Linked DNA regions of Homo sapiens: all the other regions are linked to region 3. Evidence: promoter capture Hi-C in human tissues and cell types (Jung and others, 2019). All regions are on one chromosome and are shown on one strand. The core of a region is centred on a gene start or on the middle of the fragment in contact, and the rest is flanking DNA. Distances in the headings are between cores, read along the strand shown. Region 1 overlaps RIMS4 (regulating synaptic membrane exocytosis 4). Region 2 has its middle 34 kb from the start of RIMS4. Region 3 holds the start of RIMS4 (regulating synaptic membrane exocytosis 4).

Evidence for each region. Contacts are between HindIII fragments. The study calls those that stand out against the background at their distance.
Region 1: a fragment that was not itself captured here is called in contact with the fragment with the promoter of RIMS4 in region 3 in 1 of the 25 tissues and cell types used here (spleen).
Region 2: a fragment that was not itself captured here is called in contact with the fragment with the promoter of RIMS4 in region 3 in 1 of the 25 tissues and cell types used here (stomach).

The regions. Positions count from the first base shown.
Region 1 is chr20:44,758,827-44,761,526 of GRCh38, reverse strand. The region is part of intron 2 of RIMS4 (regulating synaptic membrane exocytosis 4); the gene reads left to right. Among named protein-coding and RNA genes, the nearest start is that of KCNK15-AS1, 14 kb to the right of the region's middle. The HindIII fragment of the contact is 8,944 bases long and covers 1-2,700 here.
Region 2 is chr20:44,842,742-44,845,441 of GRCh38, reverse strand. No RefSeq gene overlaps it. Among named protein-coding and RNA genes, the nearest start is that of RIMS4, 34 kb to the right of the region's middle. The HindIII fragment of the contact is 4,463 bases long and covers 1-2,700 here.
Region 3 is chr20:44,809,182-44,811,881 of GRCh38, reverse strand. RIMS4 (regulating synaptic membrane exocytosis 4) reads left to right here and starts at 1,336. Exons shown (of 6, transcript NM_182970.4): 1 at 1,336-1,707. The coding sequence starts at 1,611. The HindIII fragment of the contact is 17,434 bases long and covers 1-2,700 here.

The sequences.
Region 1 (2,700 bases), core at 78-2,577, 50 kb after region 3:
ACTCCCAGTTTGTCACTGGGTGGGGGCTGCTTCTGAGGCATGAACCCTCAGGTGCTTCCAGCCTGCCCTGTGCCACAGGCTGAATTTGCTTCCCCAGCAAAATTCAGAATTCTCACAGCCAGAAAATAAGCCCTCAGACCTAGTGGCAGGTGTGAGAGCAGGTAGCTTCAAAGTATAGAGGTGAGTGCTGAGGGATAGGGTGGGGCCATGCAGTACCTGTGTCATTTGGGTAGGTTTCTTAACTCTCCGGCTCATCTATAAAATGGGCCCAGTAACAGTATTGACCTCATGGGGTTGTTGTGAGGCTGAAATGAATTAATAAGTATAGAGCACTTTGACATTTGTGGCATTTAGTGAGCACTGGGAGTTCGCTGTTGCTAATCTCTGTATCAAGTCCCGCTGTGTCCTCTGTTTGCTGGAAACTTAGACCCACTTGGTTCAGGATTTTCCCAAATGTTATGCCTGTGTCCTGGGGAAGTTTATGTGGAGAGAATCTGTGTAAATTTCTAGAACAGGCCCAGGGTAACTATCAAAGTATTTAATAAGAAGCACAAGTCACAGCTACTGATCACACTATTTTGTATTGCCGCCCACATCCCCCCCTGCCCACATTAATTCTCTACTTATTTATTACTAAGATTTCTATCATTTACCACCTTCTAACATACTGTAATGTTTATGATATTAATTGTGTGTAATATGTCACTAGAATCTAAGCACCTGAAGGGCAGAAATCACTGTTCACTAACATATTCCAAGTGTCCAGAATAGTGCCTGGACACAATAGAGTGCATAGTATGTGCTCAGTAAACATTTGTTGGTTGAATGAATGGATCAAATGGACGCCGGCCATAACACCTGGTGTACCAGCTGAATGTCAGTGAGGGCTCGTGTCCAGTAGCATTGGCTGCTATTATTGTGGTGCTCAGACACTGGGGACAGAGTGTGTGGTCTGCAATCATCATCCATCATCCTGGTGTCTCCTGGAACGTGATCTTACTGTCTGCTCCTTGGTCATTGTTTCTCATTGGTCTCAGCTACTTCTCTTTGCCCAGACCACCAGGCCTCTATGGATCTGCCCTTCTCTCCAGTGCACCTGGATCATATGTTCCTCTCTAGGGTATGGAGGGATGTACAGAGAGCCTCAGAGATCTCCCAGGGGGTTACTTGACAAGAAGCCCAAGTAGCCATTTCTGTAAAGTGTTCTGCCCTTTTCTTAGCTCCACCCAATAAGAAGAGTAAGTGCAAGTCTCCTCTGCTTTCAGATCCCCCCAGCCTATCTGGAGTTTTCTGTCATCCCCCAGCACTCACCAGCTGCAGACTACAGACCGTCCTCAAGGATCCTGCAGCATCTCAGCTCTGTTCCCTCCTTGCCTGACTTCCTCTGCTCTCCCAGGCTGAGGGTTTGTCTGTTTCGGGGCAGGATAGCCTAGTTTTGTACCTATTCTTTCAAGTCTGTTTCTTAGATTTGGAACTGAAAAGTCAAGAGCCCAAGTCTCTTGCTCTCTACCTCCTGCTGGGTCATTCCTTCTCTGAGGCAGCCAACATAGGACACCCTGGCTACTGTCTGAATGGGGAAAGCAAGCCAGGGGTAGTAGGAAATCAGGAAAAGGGAAAGCACTCAGGCTGAATATTCTGCCATTAACTCTGCAGATAACTTAAGTAAAAACAGAACACTGGGGGACTTCAAATGGTTCAGGGAAGAATCGGGCAGCCAAGACTGGGTAGCTAGTAGAGTTTATGGGTTTTGCCTGAGGGCAGGCCATTTATATGGCTCAGTTCTTGTGACTTTTAGTCTCCAGGATTCTCTTTTTTATTTCCCAGAGAGAGGTTTTGATTGGCCTGGCTTGGGTTAAGCCTCTGACTCTGTATGCCTCATCTCTGGCCAGGGAATAGGGTCACCCTTTTGCTGGGCAAATGTGTTTCTTATTTAAAAGATGGTGATAAAGATCAAAAGCCAACCTCTTGGGCTAGGCGTGGTGGCTCACCCCTGTAATCCCAGCACTTTGGGAGGTCGAGGTGGGTGGATCACGTGAGGCCAGGGGTTGGAGACCAGCCTGGCCAATGTGATGAAACTCTGTCTCTACTAAAAAACACAAAAATTGGCCGGGCGTGGTGGTACACGTCTGTATTCCCAGCTACTTGGGAGGCTGAGGCATGAGAATTGCTTAAACGCTTAAACCCAGGAGTTCGAAGCTGCAATGAGCCAAGACCGTGCCACTGCACTCCAGACTGGGCAACAGAGGGAAACTCTGTCTCAAAAAAAAAACAAAAACCAGAACAACAACAAAAAAAACCTCCTGTGGTTGTGGTGAGGATCAGATGAGAAAATGGGTTGCAAGTGCTTTGGTGCTCAGGATAACAGAGGCACATCAGGCATGGTACTTAGTGCCTCATCGCACTTAATACAACAGACCTAGGAGATGGGAACATTATTATTCCCATTTCACAGATGGGAAAGAGATACTTAGAGAAGTGAAGGGAGTGGGGAGAACTGACTAAAGCTGTCTTAGGCAAAATAATAAAATTATCTTTGTTGTTGCTGTTGATATTGACTTAACGTAACCAAAAGATGAAGTAGCTTGCTTCAGGCAGAGCTTGATCCAGGAGCTCACACAATGCTGTCATTTTGATGGTTTCATTCTCGGGATCCAGATGGTAGCTACATAGCACCAGAAGCTCCAGTCCTGCATCTCAGGC
Region 2 (2,700 bases), core at 64-2,563, 34 kb before region 3:
AAGGCTAGAAACTTGGAGAATCTCTTGCTGGTCCAGTCCTTCATATCTCCGAAAGCCTTTTTCAATTGAAATGCCAAGAGTCCCAGTATCTAATGTAGATACATTAATAACATTTGCTTATTCTCAAGTCCATTGATGAGAATATTGAGATTGGATTAAGTTATTATTGATTTCAGACTAAAAAATTATGGAGTGCCTGCTGGATGCCAGACCCTGGGAATGCAGCAGTGTACAAAACAGACACAGCCCCTGCTCTCATGAAGCATTTGTTCTAGCACAAAAAATTTACATAATTATGACAAGCAGTAAGAGAAGAGACAAGAGAATGGGGGTTGGGGCATGAGAGCTACTATTTTGGATAGGGTGGTCAGGGTATCGCTGAGTAGCTGACATTTGAGAAGAGGTCTGAAGGAAATGAGAGTAGTCCAGTACTGTGGGATACCTAAGGGAAGAGCTGTTGATTTTAGCAAAAGTATTTGAAATGCTCTTGTGGTTTGTTTTTTGTTTGTGTGTGTGTTTTTTGAGATGGAGTCTCGCTCTTTTGCCAGGCTGGGGTGCAATAGCGTGATCTTGGCTCACCGCAACATCTGCCTCCTGGGTTCAAGCGATTCTCCTGCCTCAGCCTCCCGAGTAGCTGGGATTACAGACACCTGCCATCATGCCTGGCTAATTTTGTATTTTTATTAGATATGGCGTTTCTCCATGTTGGTCAAGCTGGCCTCAAATTCCCCACCTCAGGTGACCCACCCACCTTGGCCTCCCAAATTGCTGAGATTATAGGCGTGAGCCACTGCGCCCAGCTGAAATGCTCTTGGTTTAAGGATGACAATCTCACTCTCACAGTAGCCAATGTCTTCCTTTCATTGTGGGTACCTCTGTCTCTCTCTCTCTCTCTCTCTGTTTTTGTTTTTTTTGTTTTTGTTTTTGTTGTTTTTTTGTTTTTTGAGACAAGGTCTTGCTCAGTTACCCAGGCTGGAGTGCAGTGCTGCAATTATAGTTCACTGCAGGCTTGACCTCCCAGGCTCAAGTAATCCTCCCACCCCAGCCTCCTGAGTAGCTGGGACTACAAGCGCACATCACCACGCCTGGCTATTTTTTAAAGTTTTCTGTGGAGACAGGTCTACCTATGTTGCCCAGGCTGGTCTCAAGCTCTAGAGTTCAAGTGATCCTCCCATCTTAGCCTCCCACAGTGCTGGGATTACAGGTGTGAGCCACCGTGCCTGGCTTTGGGTACATCTCTTATCTGAGTCCGACTAACCTGGTTCCTCTGCTTTCCACTACCTGTGTGAACTTTGGGCAAGCCACATCATCCCTGAGAGTCTTCATGTCTTCAACTGTAAACTGCACATAGCAGTCATAACCATACCTACCTCACAGTAGGGTTGCTGAGAAGGGAAAACGAGCTACGGAAGTGTAGTGCAATGATTAACAATGAGAGTGCTTGGGTCAGCACTCATTCAAAGTGCTGGGGTCAGCCTGCTTTTGAAGTCTGGCTCTACCGTTTTCTAGCCATATAACCTGTGGCAAATTATTTAGCCTCTCTGGGTCTTTGGCTTGTGTGGTAGGCACAATCATGGCCTCCCAAAAATGCCCATGTCCTAAAACCAAACCTATGAATATGTTAGGTTACATGGCAAAGGGAATTGAGGCTGCAGATGGAATTAAGACTGCTAATCTGCCGGGCGTGGTGGCTCACTCCTGTAATCCCAGTGCCTTGGGAGGTTAAGGCAGGAGGATCGCTTGAGCCCAGGAGTTCCAGACCAGCCTGGGAAACATGGTGAAAGCCCATCTCTACCAAAAAAAAAAAAAAAAAAAGTGGTGCCCACTTGTAGTCCCAGCTACTTGGGAGGCTGAGGTAGAAGGCTTGCTTGAGTCCTACAGGCGGATGGAGGTTGCAGTGAGCCAAGATCACGCCATTGTACCCCACCCTGGATGACAGAGCCAAACCCTGTCTCAAAAAACAAAAACAAAAACAAAACCCTCCTAATTGCCTGACTTTAAGGCAGGGAGAGTATTCTGTGTTACTCTCTGGGTGGACCCAATGTAATCACGAAGGTCTTTAAAAGTGGAAGAGGGAGGCAGGAGAGGACATTCAGAGGGAAGAAGATGCGACTACAGAAGAACAGTTGGAGTGATAAGAAAGACTTGATCATTGTTGCTGGGTAGATGAACAAGGTCACTAGCCAAGGAATGCAGGTAGTCCCGGGAAGGAACGCAGCCCAAGGTGCCCATGTAGACTTGTAACCAGCAGAACTGTAAGATGACACATTTGCATTGTTTAAGCCACTAAGTTTGTGGCAATTTGTTGTAGCAGCAATAGGAAACTAACATGGCTTGTCAATTGAAAATGGGCAAAATGATAGTATTGGTGATAGCTGTTGTGAAACCTCAGTTCTTATCTTCTTAGTTTAAAATAATTTAACCAGCCGGGTGCAGTGGCTCACACGGGAGGCCGAGGCAGGTGGATCACTTGAGGTCAGGAGTTTGAGATCAGCCTGGCCAACACAGTGAAACCCTGTCTCTACTAAAAATACAAAAACAGCTGGGCATGGTGGCCTGAAATCCCAGCTACTTGGGAGGCTGAGGCAGGAGAACTGCTTGAACCCAGGAGACAGAGGTTGCAGTGAGCCAAGATCGCACCACTGCACTCCAGCCTGGATGACAGAGCGAGACTCCATCTCAAAAAATATTAATAATAAA
Region 3 (2,700 bases), core at 87-2,586:
CCAAAATGGAAGGCTCCTGTCCCCATTGTACAGATGAGGAACAGGACCCATGGGATAAAGAGTTTTGCCATAGGCCACCCAGAAAGACAGCACCACAGCTGAGATTCAAACTCTGGGCTGTCTCTTTCTGAGGCCTGAACTGTTTCCATGTCGCCAGATGGCTTCATAAAGAGGTGTGCGAGCAGCTGAGAAGGTTGTTTGACATCTGGGGCCTGATTAGGTGGGCAGGGACCCTCACGTCCCAGGTCACATGCAGGGAATGGAACACGGGTTTCCGATTCGCTCGTCTCTGTCCTGGGGCTGTGAGTGTCTGAGCCCGTGTGTGTCTGAGGACTGCGGGTCGCCGAGGGTGATAATGGGAGAGTCTGTGAGTGTGAGCCTGCCAAGTGTGTCTCAGTGTACCTGAGTCTGAGGGTGTCAGTCAATCCGTCGGGATGCACCCACACTGGGAGGGATGGAGTCTGTGTGGCTGTGTCTTGGCGTGTGTGTGCTACTCTAGTGTGTCTGAGGGTGAAGGTGTGTGCATCTGGCCGTGTCAGTCAGAGTGTTTGACAGTGCTGAGATGATCACAGGGGGAGGCGACACAGAGTGTGTGCTGGGTCTGGGCTTGTGTGTTCATCTGAGTGTATGAATGTGTGTATGAATTCTGGGGTGTCTTTGGTAAGTGTGAATGCATGAGACTGTGTATGCCTACCTGAACTTCGTGGGGTTTTGTGGCATCTGAGAGTCTCCCCGTGAGGGAGGCCGGGCACCAGGGATGTCCTGCCTACCTCCCTGAGTGTGTTTGCAGGTCTCTGCGTGAGTCTGCGTGTGTCCGTGGACGTGTCTGTCCCCGCATCTGTGAGGGGGTGGGTCTGTGGGTGTATCTGTCCGGGTGTCTGCGGGGCATGTTGCAGAGTGAATGTGTAGGTGTGGGTGCCTGTTTGAGCTTCTCTGTGGGTGCAGGTGTGAAGCCGAGGGTCTCTGTGTGGGAGGCCGAGTGCCGACCCGCCTGGGCGGGACCCTTTGAGCGCATCCCCTCCGAGCGCGCCAGTGTCTCTGGGAGAGGCCTGTCTGGGTGAGGGACTGGACGCCGGCCTCTCCGCAAGTCGGCCGGCTGAGGGTGGGGGCCGAGGCGGGGTCGGGAACAGCCCTCGGACCAGGGCCCAGACAACCTCGCCCGGCGCCTGCCTCCCCGCGCGCACCTGCCGGGCCCGGGGGCTGCTAGAAGAGGCCGCAGCCCGCGCCCTCCGGGCTCCCACGCCCCGCAGCGGCGCCCCCTCCCCCGGCGGCACGGATTGGCTGCGGCGCCGCTCCAAGCCCGCCTCGCGCTGCCGGCGGGGGGCGCCGCGGACCAGAGCGCGCTGCGCCGCCACCGCCGCCGCCACCGCCGCCGCCGCCGCCGCCGCCAGCAGCACAGCGCGCCTCGGGCTCCGCGCGCCGCCAGCTCCTGGCCCGCCCGCCGGCCCCGCCGCGCCCGCCAGCCCCGCAGCGGAGCCTCGGCCCGGCCCCGGGCCGCCGCCACCACGCCGCGCGCCGTACTCCGCGTCAAGAATGGGGCGGCCAAGCTGCCCAAGCCGCCCGCCGCCGCCGCCGCCGCCGCGGCCGAGGCGCCCGGCGCCGGCGCGGGCATGGAGCGCTCGCAGAGCCGCCTCAGTCTGTCCGCCTCCTTCGAGGCGCTCGCCATCTACTTCCCGTGCATGAACTCCTTCGACGACGAGGACGCAGGTAAGCGCGCGGCCCGCCCCCCAGACCCCCGGGGTGTCCCGGGATCCAGGTCCGGTAGCCCCCTCCCCGACCCGTGCGCCCTCCTCCCCACCCCCAATCCCCTGGGAAGGCGCCCCCAGGGTCTCCTTCCGCACCCACGGGACCCCAGGGTCTCCAGGATGCGCTACCTTCTGGCCTTCTCCCCCAGGGACCCCGAGATTGTCTGCATTCACCTTTCCCGCAGGTGGGCCCTTTGGGTCGCCAGGACCCATCTCCCTCCTCACCCGCGCCTATTGGAGGCCCCTTGCCTCGTCCCTGGAGCCGACCTGCCACCCTCCCTGAGTCTCCTGAATGTGCCCACTCTTCAAGCCCTGGGCTTTGGCCGTCCCACCCCTGGGGCTCCGACGCGCCCCCCGCCATTGGAGGTGGCGCGCAGACCTTACCTCTCCATCTTTGTCTTGGCCACATCCAGAGGATCCCTGCCCAAGACCCCTGCCCGGCGCCCCAGGCCTTGAGCGCCCCCATTTATCTCTCCTCTCCTTCCCTCATGGGCTGGGGCTCCAGACTCCTGCTTCTTATACGCCTGGGGCAGACGGAGGGGAACCGGCCAGGTGACGGCCTTTCCTCCCCTCTCTTCCCGGAGAGAGGTGTAGGGCGGCGCCAACTCTACACTTGTCCGCCCGCTGGTGTGTGCCCCTGACCTCAGGTGCTCTTGTCCCTGGAGTCGCCTTTCTTGGTGGGCTGAAGCCGGCCACCAGCCAGCGGCTTGAACCTCCTCCTCCCAGGCCTGCGCACAACCTCAGCCAGAGCGAGGGGTGGGGAGCTGTAGGGAAACCTACTCTTTAGGGCCCTGGGACCCGGCAGAAGGAACATGAGAGCTCCGGATTTGGTTCTGGGGTGAGGAAGGGAATCCACCAACAGGTGGGGTAGCTAGAGGGCTTGGGTGAGAGTTCCCCAAAGAATGCCAGATTGGGAATCGGAATCAGGTTCCAGTCTTCATTCTCTACTTCTTAG